Linked DNA regions of Homo sapiens: all the other regions are linked to region 2. The links are contacts of gene promoters, found by promoter capture Hi-C in blood cells and fetal thymus (Javierre and others, 2016). All regions are on one chromosome and are shown on one strand. The core of a region is centred on a gene start or on the middle of the fragment in contact, and the rest is flanking DNA. Distances in the headings are between cores, read along the strand shown. Region 1 overlaps ELMO1 (engulfment and cell motility 1). Region 2 holds the start of AOAH (acyloxyacyl hydrolase). Region 3 overlaps ELMO1 (engulfment and cell motility 1).

The links. The method cuts DNA at HindIII sites, captures the fragments that hold promoters and counts their contacts. A CHiCAGO score of 5 or more calls a contact.
Region 1: a fragment that was not itself captured here is called in contact with the fragment with the promoter of AOAH in region 2 in 6 of 17 cell types (M1 macrophages, non-activated CD4 T cells, naive CD8 T cells and 3 more); the score reaches 6.9 in M1 macrophages.
Region 3: a contact is called between a fragment that was not itself captured here and the fragment with the promoter of AOAH in region 2, in 3 of 17 cell types (naive CD8 T cells, total CD8 T cells and naive CD4 T cells). The highest score is 7.4, in naive CD8 T cells.

What each region holds. Positions count from the first base shown.
Region 1 is chr7:37,193,574-37,198,227 of GRCh38, forward strand. The region is part of intron 13 of ELMO1 (engulfment and cell motility 1); the gene reads right to left. Among named protein-coding and RNA genes, the nearest start is that of ELMO1-AS1, 200 kb to the left of the region's middle. The HindIII fragment of the contact is 745 bases long and covers 2,303-3,047 here.
Region 2 is chr7:36,723,244-36,727,748 of GRCh38, forward strand. AOAH (acyloxyacyl hydrolase) reads right to left here and starts at 1,251. Exons shown (of 21, transcript NM_001637.4): 1 at 779-1,251. The coding sequence starts at 905. The HindIII fragment of the contact is 12,094 bases long and covers 1-4,505 here.
Region 3 is chr7:37,174,079-37,178,858 of GRCh38, forward strand. All of the region lies in intron 13 of ELMO1 (engulfment and cell motility 1), which reads right to left. Among named protein-coding and RNA genes, the nearest start is that of ELMO1-AS1, 180 kb to the left of the region's middle. The HindIII fragment of the contact is 1,734 bases long and covers 434-2,167 here.

The DNA of each region.
Region 1 (4,654 bases), core at 1,425-3,924, 470 kb after region 2:
TCCTTGGTAACCGGCAGCCTTCCGCAGCACACTCATACTCAGCACTAAAAATAAGGCAGCACTATCTATACAGTGTGAGTCACTAGGAAACGGCGAAAATAGGACTGCACCAATGGCCTGCTACGGGAAGAGTATCAATTGTGTTTCCCAGCTCTTACAAACAAATCAGAGTCCCTGCGTGGCGGGCCATCCTCTTTCCAGTTTTCTCTTATCACCATTTTCTCTCCTGCTGGCAGATGAGCACACACATGCACACACACTTGTGCACACACATGTAATACATGTACATACACATAAACATGTGACTCTAGTACACACTTAGAGAAGAACCCACTCTAGGCTTCAGCAAATGATCTCACCCGGTGCTGCCTCAGCAACTTGTCCCTCTAAATACATCTCACTGGCACTTCTCATCCAGAATGCTCTGGAAAGCCCTGGCTCTCCTGGAGAAATTCTCCAGAACAAGCACAGAACTTGACACATGAAGACTGGAGTCCCATGTGTCACACACTCGATGTATGTCCTGGCCAGTTTATTCTCTGCTCTATAGTTTCCCAGCTCCCCTTTCATTAAAATAGGCTAACAAAACACTTGCCAGGTTACTGTAAATCTCAAGCAAATGTTAACTTGTGCTAGGTATTTGTATTTCCATTGGCCTTCTGGCTATCTCCAGCTGAAAAGTCCTGACAGTAATTCAAATGTCCTTTATCCTAAATGGAACAAACCAGCCCCTTCCCAAAGCTGCATCTCCTATCTGCAGAAAGAGCAACCCAGCTTCCCGGCCACACAAGCTGTGCAACACTCCCCATATCCAATCTGTTACCAAGCCCTGTGCTCCACACCTTTTCTTTCACATTTGTTTTCTCCCTTTCTATTCCCCTTCTATTTCTAGTTTCGGCCAATATCACCTCCAGCCTCTTCCAACTTCCTGCCATCTTTTTACTACCACCGAAGTGAAATCCTCAGCTTTAACTGCATTATTTCTTAACTTACAAATTATCAAATATCATCCAAACACCGCAGCACATAATATTTTATGGCCCAGCCTCAAAGGAGCAGAAATTGAAGGAAACTTCACATTCTTCCACTTTCCACTCCTTGTTGGTCACCCACGCTCCTCCTCCTCCCCAGCTCACTCATGTCCAAATGCTCCCTATTCTTTAAGGTTCATCTTCAGCGTCCTCTCCACTGTAAAATCTCATGGAGTCCTCAAATAAATTCTCCTTATCCATTTTTGGAATTTCAGAAACACTTTATAGTCTATTTGTATGATTCTCATAGCATATATCAACTTCTACCTATAAGTAAAGGTGTCTCCTTTCTTGAACGGTAGAATCCTTAATTGATCTATTCATTCATTCATTCAACACACACTTACCATATGCCTATCCAGTGGCAGGAACTGTGCTGGGTGCAAGAGATGCAAAGGTGTGCTAAGTAGACAAGGACCTATCCCTCTGGTGGGACATCAGGCTAATAAGCAAGTACAAACTACGTGCTGAAACGGGGGTAGGACCTGGACTGGGAGAGCTCCCAGCAGGCTCCCTGTGTCTAGTCTAAGAATACAACACACTCAGTTCTGAACTGAGAATTGTAGAGGACAGGGGATGAGAGTGCCAGGAGAGAGAACAGCACACATGAGGTCCAGAGTGATAAGGAGTTCACTCAACAATCAATTCCATGAAGGCCTTGGCTTCTCCGATTCATCTTTGTGACTAGAGAGAGGCCTGTCCGCACACTGCCTTAAATATCATAAATGCTCATAAATGTTGGTTGCACGAACAAATGAATCAACACATTAGTCTCTTATTTTTAGTCTAGATTAAACTCCAACATGACCCTATTGCCTGGCATGATCCGTTACTATCAAAGTGCTCTACAGGTGACCGATGGGACGCCATTCTACAGTGAGCCACTCAGATAGATGGAAGAAATCCACAGGCCCCTGTCTCACACCTTGGATGCCTGTTTGGATGCCCAGCCATGCCCAGCTGGCTGGAGGCGGGGCTCCCTGCACTGAGCAGCAGTTGCAGGAATCTGTGATGCTTTCCCAAAGTGAGGAAGAACTGTACCTCCTCCCAGAGCTTTCCTCTCCGAAAAAGCTGGCGTGGCTCTTCTCCTAACAGACCTGGTCCCAGACGGACCACCTCCAGTAGATGCCCCTGAACTTTAAAAGCTGTACTGCAGAGGCCTCCCTCTTCCTGGTCTCCATTTTCCAGCCCTTTCCCTTTGCCCTAATGCTCATAAGTCACAGGGAAGGCTGCAGTGGGAATGAGGGAGAACCCTTCAAGAAACAAGGAAAAGCTTTAGTATATGACATCACAGATAAATATATTAAAGGGCTGGGGGGATGGAGAGAACCAAATTCAAATCTGCTAACTTCAGGCTCCATCTATGAACAATAGAAGGCAAAAAGTGAAGGCCGATTTCTGGGTTATCATGAAGCAGGAAGATGAGCACTCAGGACCTGTCATGAAAATACTTGCTTTCCCTCACTGCTTTGCCCTGGTTATGAAGCAAGGTCATCAACAAATGAACAACATCAAGAAGGCAGGCAGAGGCTCAATAAGCTGAGAATGGAGACAAGGCCTCTTGGATTTACCTGAATTGAATGTAAAGAGCGACTGAGACCTTGTAGACAGCATGTTCCCTTTTCCTTAAATAGCAAGACAGCACAGCCTCGAGGCTGAGGTGGGGGAGGACTGGCGTCAGGGTGAAAGGGGCCAAACACTGGCCCTGCCACTTGCTTGCTGTGAGCATTTGCGAAGGATTTATAGCATCCCTGGAAAACTGGAAGCACAATTTTGCTTTCTACCCCCAGATAGAAACGTGGCCTTGCTCCTGCTGGGTTTAGCTTGAGATTCAGGAAGGACGATGCTCTGTGCATGTTCCCTTAAGAAGCAGCAAGTGGATAGTTGGTGTGTGGTCTTCATTAGTGGGAATACCATCCTGAGTGTGGAAAGGCCACAGTGAGACAAGCATTTGGTGGCTTTCTCAAGGACTCCAAGGGAGTGGGGGGTGTCCTTGGCATGGGAGGCTAGAAATAAAGCTTCACTAAGATCTGCTACTTTCATCTATTTCACTGCCTTGCTCCCATGAGTGTCTGAACCTGCGACTAAACAACTTGAAAACAAAAATTAAGTCTGCATATGTCTCCTTGTGCTGCTGAAACACTGCAGCTATTGTGGGCAGGTTTCAAATCTTCTGAAGCTGTAAGCCTCTTTTTATTCGTCTCTAAAATAGACATAATAATCCTTGTGTCTTGTGTCTTGTGGAGACAGAATGAGATACTGCATATGGGAACTTTCTGGCTCAGGTCCCAAAGAGTCCCCTAGACACTACTGCTGCTGGGTGTGGCCACTGCAGCTATTTTCTGCAGCTATTTACTGGGATAAGACCAGTAGAAACCCTAGCAGGCAACCTAAAAATGATAGATTCTCAGCAGTCTAGCCAGTTTGGTAATGTAAACATTTAAAGAGGAGGGACAGGAATAACAAGAAAGCAAAGGGTTAATAAATACCCCTTACCCTTTTAACCATGTTGTCCCAAGCACCATCTCGGGAGTGTGCACCACTTCTCATTGGAAAGTTTGTAGGTTTGCAGAGTTCATGGAAGATTCTTCCTGCTCCTCTTTCTCTCGTCTTCAGAATGAACAAGTGCAGGAAGTATGCAGAGATGCCCGCACAGGGCCAGTTCTTATGTAACCATGTGATTCTCAAATTGGTTCTTGTCCCTTCCCATTGGAAAGGTTTTGACAGTCTTCCTACACATACAAAATGCCATCCCCAGAATTAGAATCCCACGCCATGAAGCCAGCTCCCAGCATAAAAATTACTTCCCGGCAGACGTGAAACAGACATGTCCGAGTCTGGACGTCGTGCTCACACCTCCTCTCCCGAGGTCACATCACACTGAATTCAGAGGTAGGAAGGGCACTGTGACAAATAGTCACCACTTGAAAAAATGGAAAACAAAATAAAAAGTACCACAACAGCACACTGTCTCAGGAGAAAGGATAAAGATAGAAGGCATGCTAGCTTTGCGTGGAGCTGATTGATGGCCATCAAAAGCAGGTCAATGGGAAGCAGGTAACTGGATCACAGGACTCTTAACTGGTCATTCCTTCCCTCTCTTGCCTGCACCCCAGAATAACCAGCATGATTCTCAGGGGTGCTTTGATATGATCCTACTAGAGGCAAAATCACGAGTACAAGCACCTACAGAAAATCATCAGAGGAAGAGGTGCTGGATGCCTATAACTACCTTTCCCAGGTACCAGGACCCCATCACCACTCAGCCCTGCCAGACTCTGGTGGTCCTCTGTCCTAGCACTGTCCAGCCTAGGTCCAAGGCACTCTCCAAAGGGTATCGTGGATGGAGTCATCCAATTGAAAAATGCTTCCTGTCATGGACAGTAATATTGATTTAATATATGTTGTGGTTTTGAGTCTTATCTGCTTTTGAAAATCTGCACAAGAGCAGGCAGCATAAGGACATCCTCGGCCATGTGCCTACATGCTAATTCCTGAGTAGCAAAAATACAGAGCAAAAAATCCACCGCTTCCTTCACTAAAGAGGCTCTTTGAGGGGTATAAAAGTCCTGCACTGCTAAGCACTCTTACGAAATTCTCTAGAATTCATGGACTTTGGGATA
Region 2 (4,505 bases), core at 1-2,500:
CATCTAAATGCCACCACTATTATGAGAATTCCCATGTTATGAGAGCTACAATGTGAATATCAAAGATCTTACCTTACTTCCTGCTCTCATCCAAAAAAAACAAACAAAAAAAACCTCTTGGAAATAAAACACTTCATTAACAGATGAGCCAAGAAGCCATATCAACGCTCAGCGTCTCCAGGTGATCGCCAAATCTGGATTCTCTGAGAGACGGAAGGAAGCTAAGATGGTTGAGTCCTTACTGTGTGCACATGCCACAGATTTACATGCATGGTCACAATTTCCATGGTATCCCTATGAGATGGGTCTCACTCACTTCAGTTCACCAATAAGGACACAGAAGCATGGAGAGGGTTAAGTACATTGCTCCAGGTTTCCACAGCCAGTAGGAAATGGGAGAGAAGGGTAGGAGGAGGGCAGTGATTCAAACTCAGATGTGTTTATATGAGGTCAAAGCCCATGAAAAGCAGTAAAAATTTCAGACTAAAATAGCCTGAAATAATAGTTACCTATACAAGAAGAAAAAATTCCAATCGCCAATGAGGTGGAAGAGTTTTATGCCCAATTTAAACTAGTATGCTTTTTATTCACATAGATGTATGTAGTGTCAATGTCTACTCTTAGACTCCACATTTCTCTGTGTCAGTGAGGTTACTGGTGCCTTACCTGGAATCTTACAATTCTTGATTTAATAAAATATGTGATTTATTACGCAAGCAAAGTACTGGATCCCATTGTTATGTCTACATAGAAAATACAAAAATATTTATTTGCATACCTACACAGGTGTGCCCATTCGAGAGGCTGGGCCTGGACTGGTCATCGTTGGCTGGAGAGGCCGAGGACTGAAGAGACAGGAGCAAGAATAGAGGCGCCACCGTAAGGATTTTCCAGGGGGACTGCATCTCCGAGCTATGCACCCCAAGTGATCACCCGGCTTTGGAAGCTCCCAACTGAGGGATGCTGGAGCTGAGGCTGCAGAATCAATTGATCTCTCTCTCCTTCTCTTCCTCACTCTCTTTGACACACACACCCCACCCTCTCACATACACACTTTTCAATAAGTGTGAAGTGAATAAAAGCACACATAAACACTCACAGACCCACAGCTTGCTCTTGTTGGACCCTGAGAGAGCCACACACAAAGAGCTGGAGGGAGTCTGTGGTGTGCGGTTCTGCTGAGGTAAAGACTGCAGGATAAAGAAAACCCAAGTTGCACAGTGGCACAACTTCCGTGCTCCCTGGCTCAGTGAAGTTAGTGTGCATAAACCCCGTGAGCCTCGAGGCTTGCCGGAACTGATCTGTTGGGTTGGTTAGGAGGCCCTTCCCCTTTCATTCTTGCAAAACAAAACAAAACGATACTAAAGCCAAAACTGAGAAGAAAAAAGAAAAAAAAAACTAATCCACAAGCACACAACCCTTTAACAATTTGATCAGCAGCACCCACATATTGTAGAAATTCTAATTGGTTACATTCAGAACTTACTTAGTCTTGTTTTCAACAGCTTTATATGGTAAGGTTGTGATCCTTATTTTGTTGTAAAAGGATATTCTGGTCAAATAATATCTTTCCTCTGGAGAAATTGGGTTATTCCTTGAAGGGTCAAGGCCTTTTATTTGGTGTGCAGAAAATAAACAGTACAGAAAATAATGGGCAGTTAGCATGGTGGGATTTTAGACCTAATGAGAAAAAACATGGGTTAGAATTAATCAATTCACAGTTGCTAGGCTGTGCACAATGCATCTTTTTTTTCTCCAGAATTTCGAAGTGCATTTTGTGGATGATTTGTTAAGAGACTGATTTTCTGCTCTGAAGAATAGAACTGAACACTGTCTTTCTGAGGGAAAAAAAAAATCGGAACCAGATCATAGATAAAAGACATATAATCTAAATGTTTCTCTCTAAAATAAGATAAAACAAAATCATATGCCATTCTCAGTCAAGATAAGAGGACAGGGCCAAAGTACCACAGTCTAGGTAAGTGTAGGAGGTCATGAGATTCTGTTTCTCTCTGCTTAGGCTCTGAGGGAGCTTATTACAAATTTTGAAATATTATAGAAGCTATCTAAATTGTTAGCAATTAAAAAAAATAGCATTTGGAGTAGCAGGCAAAGTTTTAGAGTAGCATCCTTTCCAGGATGTAGGAAATACCAGTTTTTATGGTTGGAAGATTTCTTGTGCAGTCATTAGTCTTACAAGCACCGATGGGGCTACAATTCCCAAACCTGCTGCAGAGATAGCACAAGTCAGAGTGTTTCCCTAATTACACTTCCAGCCCAATACTGAGGATATCGTTAGGCGTCCATGGGCCTGTGACTTCCTCTGACTCTAAGGTGCTGCTGCTTCAGTTCTTCACTCTGTGACTAAGGGGAGCTCTGGGGTCACTAGGACCACCACAGGGGTGAGGCCTAGAGAAGTTCCAGAGACTTCCAAGGGAGGCTAAATAAAGGACTGATTGATTAGGAACTCAGATTGTGAAGACAGAAAGGCTCATGCTTACGTCTCATGTCTACTGTTTATTCTGAGTAATATATTAGACCAGTGATGTAACTTTCCCCCCTTCAGTGTCTTGTTTTTGTTGTTGTTGTTGTTGTTTGTTTGTTTTTTGAGACAGGGCCTTGCTTTTTCATCCAGGCTGGAGTGCAGTGGTGTGATCACAGCTCACTGCAGTGTTGACCTCCTGGGTTCAAGTGATCTTCCCACCTCAGCCTCCCAAGTAGCTCATTTCTATTGGGATAATGGTAATATCCGCTCCAATGCGCTGCTGGAAGCACTCGAATACATGATGTATCCAAACAACAAAGCAGCATGGCTGGCAAGAAGTAAGTGCTTAGTGCATCTGTCTATGACTCTAGCAGGAGTGTGATGAAACCTGCACCCCAGACCAGCTTCAAGAGAATTCCAAGACGCCCATGGTAGTTGTAGGCCATCATGTCATACATGGGAAATGGTGAGGACAGGAAAAGGGAGGATTTATTGAATACCTTCCAGCTGTGCTACAGCACTCCAGGAGTGTGTGGTCTAGTTTGTCTAATCCATAAATGGGTGAGGACTCTCCTGAGGGCTTCTGGAAGAGCATTTGACACAGGCTTTGGGCCTCTTGAGGCTCTCCTGGTCTCAATGTATAGCTGCGAGCAGGTCTGGAAACTCTTAGAGTGAGAGGGATTTCTTGGTATGCCGGAAATGCAAGTTTTGTGCCCTTCATCGCATGTATGTGGGCCAGGCAGTGCCATTCACAACCATCCCAGGGATGGTCGGCTCTGAAACTCTCTAGTGTGCTCAGGCTTCGGGGCTGGTCACAGTGGGAGTCGCTGACTTAGCTGTGCAGTATTGAGCAAGCCCCTTCCTGTTTCCAGAGGTGACAGTCCTCAGCTAGAAAAGGGAGGTGAGACTATCTACTTCGTAGGAATATATCATGGTAAAACCTGACACATAGGTTTTCAGTAATGGAAGGATTTTTCATGCTTGGAGGGTGAGTTCTTACTGGGCATGATCAAAGGAAGAATGCAGAAATCAGAAAGTGATTTCGCCAGCAGAAGCTGGAACAAAGTGCACGTGTGCACAGACCACTGAACAAAACATCCCTCTCCGTCACCAGGATGGAGTGGACCCTCCCATTTGCACAGTTGTCCTTCACACTGGCTGGTATCATTGCCCCTGACAGGGCTGCCTTTGCTCATCAAGTACTGAGTGCAAATGACTTGGGATCTTTGCACAGCTTGCCAAAAGGCCCTGGACCTACCTGTGGTTTAGAACAACTAGTCAGGCCCTGGAGAATGTTCCTGCAGGACCCCACTGTCAGATGTTCCAATTTTGAATCATCTCGAAATCTGCTCTTGAAAATGAGATTTCTTCCCTGAAGCACTTTGTTACTGATTTCACTCAAACAGCTCTGATTCAAACCACTGCTTTCCCCTGTGCCATGGAAGGCTAAGGCTTTGTGATCCCCAAGTGTTGCACCTGTGGTCTGCTTGTTCAGTATGAATATGCTTCCTGAATATTTTTTGACCACATTGGCCTCAACCACCTCATCCACAGCAAGTTCCTTAATCAGAAAAAAAAAAAAAAAAAAAAGAGGTGGGTGATGGGAGATCCTGTAAAAGCTGGCACTGTCACCAACACGTGTCTCGTCTTAGACTTTCTCCTCTCTCTAAGGCCCAGGTCCATGCTGCCCTGTTACTCCTGGCTGCCCAGGACTGTGTACAGCAGTCCTCAGTTCCCATCTACCAAAACCAGGCCCTCTGCTGCTCCCCTCCTCCTCAGTCAGAGCTTATTAACGCTAGCCTCATTCTATTCTGTTCTGCTGTCTGCTAAGGACAGGGTAAATTAACCCATGCTGAGGATGCATGGGGGCTCATTAAAAGAGCTCTGGGCTAGGATGGGGGGCCTGTGTCATGGGCTCCCCTCCTAGTAGCTGTGTGCCCTGGGTAAGCTGCTCCACCTTTCAGAATACCAGTTTATTTTACTATAGAATAGGGCATATAATGTCAATATTTAAGAAAAT
Region 3 (4,780 bases), core at 51-2,550, 450 kb after region 2:
TAAATGAAACCATGACTGGGGGGCTTAAATCTTTAGTCTTCTGCCCTTCCCCATTCTACCCCAACTTATTTTACACATCTCAAGCAAATGAGAGCATCCATTCTATGCTTAATACCCTCCCACTTCCTTTTTCCTATAAAGATGCCCAGCGGTCATCTCACGTTTTTGTTAATCACTACACAACACCAAAGCCAAGAAAAGGACGAGATTCACTGCAACACTCATTCACGGAGGCAAACCTACTTCACTATGAATCTCTGTTCATTGTGTTTGGGGTTTAGAGAACTCTATTTAGGGGTCTAGTTTAATCACCAAAAATCGAGCCCCCTAAGATTAAAATGTTTTCTGATGATTTCTAAACAGCCGACGCAGGCATTGTGCCTAAAGAGGAAAGGGTCAGTTTGCCCCTGGGCTCCTGGACACATCAGCATGAAGCTTCAGAACTCATCAGCCATCTGTATCGAGCGGGCTATCTGAGGATGCATGTCAGAGCTCTTGTAATCCAGCATCCAGCAATTGAGCTTAAGTGTCACTCCTGGCTAGATATCCAGGCATGCCCCATGCCCACTAGGTCCCATGGGTACAACAAACTCCAGGCACCAGTACATGATGTTATTCATTGAACGGCACTCACTTTATGATCTGTGGCTGGCACACTGTTAATTACATGGCAAGGAGAGGTCAATATCAAGCTAAAATGGAACCCAGCTGTCCCACAATATAATCACGTCCACCTGAGACACTGAGCCGTCACCTTTAAATCACTTGTAAGCACTAGCTTTCATAGCCTCTCTTCTATCAATAAGCCACACCACAAATGCAGTCCCTGAATCCTGCAGTTTTTCAGCATAAAGCGACATTTTCTTAGCACACTCCAAATTTAAAGCCTATTTTCTCAATAAAAGAGGAAAGGGGTTAAGAATGGTAAAAAATCAATGGCGAAGTGGGACCCGAGATAAAGTGGAGGGGGCAGAGAGAAAGGTGATATAGAAAAAAGGAGTGGAAGGGAAAAAAGGAAGGCGGGAAAAGAAAAGAGAAACAGCATTTGAAACACTGCAAAGAGAAAATGATCAGCAGAATAATAAGGAGACAAAGAAAAGGAGTGAAAGAAAAATAGGTTGGGTAGTTTGGTGAGATGAGCATATCCATAGTGTTTGTTCCTTCCAAATTTTGAATACGGGCTTCATAGCAAGCTGTTCACTACTACCAACACCTTGTGCAATGCAAATTAGTCACTACCAAATCTCTACATTTGTCTGCAAATTTTCAATGTCCAGTTGGAACGGCATGCCAATAGTAACACATCACAGAAAGTATTGTCAGGCTGCAGAGTCAGTCCTCCCCTTAGGACAGCTGAAACCAAACAGCAGTTGAGACGGGCGGCCCACCATGGAGTTACACCCAGGGTCACCTTCCAACAGGTTTCTTAACCCTCTGGGGACACTTGGCTTTCACTCTTCCCCATGCCCAACTCAAAACCCAACAGGCTGGGCACTGTGGCTCATGCCTGTAATCCTAGCACTTTGGGAGGCCAAGGCAGGCAGATTGCCTGAGCTCAGGAGTTCGAGACCAGCCTGGGAAACATGGTGAAACCTTGTCTCTACTAAACATACAAAAAATTAGCTGGGCGTGGTGGTGCACGCCTGTAATCCCAGCTACTCGGGAGGCTGAGGCACCAGAATCACTTGAACCCAGGAGGCGGAGGTTGCAGTGAGCCGAGATTGTACCACTGCACTCCAGCCTGGGCGACAGAGTGAGATTCTGTCTCAAAGAAAAAACAAAACAAAACAAAACCAACAAACGACTCATGATCACTTTAGAATGGACAGTGTCTCTGTTCTCAGTGTATAAGAACATAGTTACTTTTAGTTCCAAGTTGAACTGCAATACCTGAAAATGATTTTCACAGCAGCATAGGATTCAGATTAGACACAAGAAAGAACTTTCAAGTGATGTTTGGAATGATATACAGGAGATCGTGGCTGGTTCTACAACAGTCTTTGGATATAGCTGAGAATATGCTGTCATTTACTAGAGATAATAATTTCAGTATAGCCTACAATGGGCTAGGCAAATTAATTTCAGAATGACCTTTAACATCTCAACAATTTCCCAAGCTCCCCAAAGACTCATCGACTGTTATACTTTCACTGTCATTTCCTAGAAAAGCTTCCTCAGAATCCTAACAATACTTTCAAAGAAAAGGACTGCTTCCTTATTGTCACCTCCTCCCTATGCATTGACAAAGTACTTTCTTATAAATGACAATGTGCTAAAAATAGTCACAAATAAAACAAAACAAAAAGCAACATATAGCCTAACGACCATGAAAGTCTCCAAATATTTTGGTCTATCGCAGTGAGATAACTGAAAAGGAAACAGAAAGCTGTAAGAATAAAAATGTACAATATAATATTGCTTACAAAAATACTAGAACATTGAATGTCCAGTACTTAAAAATATCAAAATATATACAATGCATCAACCCAATGGAATGAACAGCCATAAAAGTAATTGTGGTATAACAATATGAAAAAGTGCTTGTGAGATAATGCTTCAAGTAAAACATAGAATAATCTTTTCCCTCCTATTACAATTATTTGACCATTTACAAAATGACCAAAAACTGGAAGCAAACAGGAAACAAAAATAACTAACGGATGCACTGTCATGGAAACATGGAACACATTTTCTTTTATTTCTCTATTACTTTTATGCTGATATTGGTTGCAGTAAACAAAAGTTAGAAGACAAAGTAAAGAAGGGAAAAGGAAAACACAGTTATAGCTTTTAGACGACTATATAATCAACGTCAGACAATACTGGCATAGACCAATATGGAAGACACAGCTCAATGCCTAAGTACGGATATGGTGTAGCCATTAAAAATGCTTAGGAAGGACTGTAGATGTATCTTCCAGTGGGAAAAGTGACCCAGCAGAAATGGACATTGTATGTTACAAACTAGATAAAAGGTGGGAAGAAGAGTTTCCAGTGGAACTGAAATTAAGAGCTTCAAGGAATTAAAGAAGACCACCTTTCCAATTAGACACTCTCAGAATGAGAACTCTAAACATAGCATGTTCTAGCAGAAGATTGTCAGATAAAGCAAATCTGAGATTTCATTTTCTGTGCCCTGTCAAGAAAACTTTCTGCTATGAGTGGCTTGTAAAACTCATGATACTCCACTCTGTGTCAATGGTTGCCAAACACATTCACACATAAAGCAAAATATACTAGCAATTAAAAACATCATGAGCACAAGAAAGTACAAAGAAGTGGCATGGGAATAGTGCTTCTTTCAATAGTTCTCAAACTTCAGAGCTAATTAAATTTCTTTGTTTTCCCCAATTGGAAGCATAGTAATTAGTAATATTCAAGTTACAGCACAATAATTTAAAATGTATTCTGAGAATAATTTGAATTAAATCTTAGGAAATAAACAAAAGTGACCTTCCTTCTAAAGACTGACTTTATTTTGAAAACTATTTGTATTTGTTTTCCTCTGTTATGTGTCGCATTTCATTCCTGTCACTCTGTGTTCAAGAGGACACTACTTAAAGATTTCTAATTTAGTGTGTACCTAATGAGAGAAAGCTAGAGAGTGATTGCTCCAGCTGCTGGGTGGTCATGGATTGATTAAGGTTTGTGGATTACTCTGGCCCTTCTTTTCCTTGACTCACTGCTTACTATGTGGTATATACTGGGACCTAGAGAGGTCATCAGTGAAGGGAAATTAGATAAAATCTGTATCTATGTTACTCTTTGTATTTGAAGGGGAGGTTTACTTTATAGATTGAAATCAGCTTTCTAAAATATCCACAGATCCATCAAACCAAATAAATGCCCCTCCCCCAAACTCAAGACAGCCAATGCATGATTCAGGAGGGAGTTAGGCACTGGGGAACTTCCTGTGATGGTTAATTGTACATGTCAACTTGCCTGGGCCAAGGAACACCCAGATAGCTGGTGAAGCATTATCTCGGTGTGTCTGTGAGTGTGTTTCTGGGAGGGATTAGCAGTATGTTAGTCCGTTTTCATGCTGCTGATAAAGACATACCCGAGACTGGGTAATTCATAAAGAAAAAGAGGTTTAATGGACTCACAGTGCCACGTGGCTGGGGAGGCCTCACAATCATGGCGGAAGGTCAAAGGCATGTCTTACACTACAACAGGCAAGGAGAGAATAAGAACCAAGCAAAGGGGAAACGTCTTACAAAACCATCAGATCTTGTAAGACTTATTCACTACCACGAGAATAGCATGGGAGAAACTGCCCCCATGATTCAATTATCTCCCACTGAGTTGTTCCCACAACACACGGGAGTCATGGGAGCTACAATTCCCCATCTCTTCAAAAAAAAAAAAAAAGAAAAAATTAGCCAGGCATGGTGGCGCCTGTAGTCCCAGCTACTCAGGAGGCTGAGGTGGGAGGATCGCCTGAGCCCAGGAGGCAGAGGTTGCAGTAAGCTGAGATCACACCACTGCACTCCAGCCTGGGCAACAAAGCCAGACCCTGTCTCAAAAAAATTTTTTTAATTAGAAAAAAAACAGTATTAGCACCATAGAAAGATATTTAAAACCACACAATAGTAGAGAATAAAAATTGTAAAAGTCAGGAGAGACGTACCTCCTCATACGAGGTGGCAAGGCACCTTGCCTCTGTAAGTTTCTCTCCAAAAACCTATAACCCCAGTCTAATCATGAGAAATATGAGACAAACCCAAACTGAAGAACAGTCTACAAAACACATGACCAGACTTGCTAGGAAATATCAAGG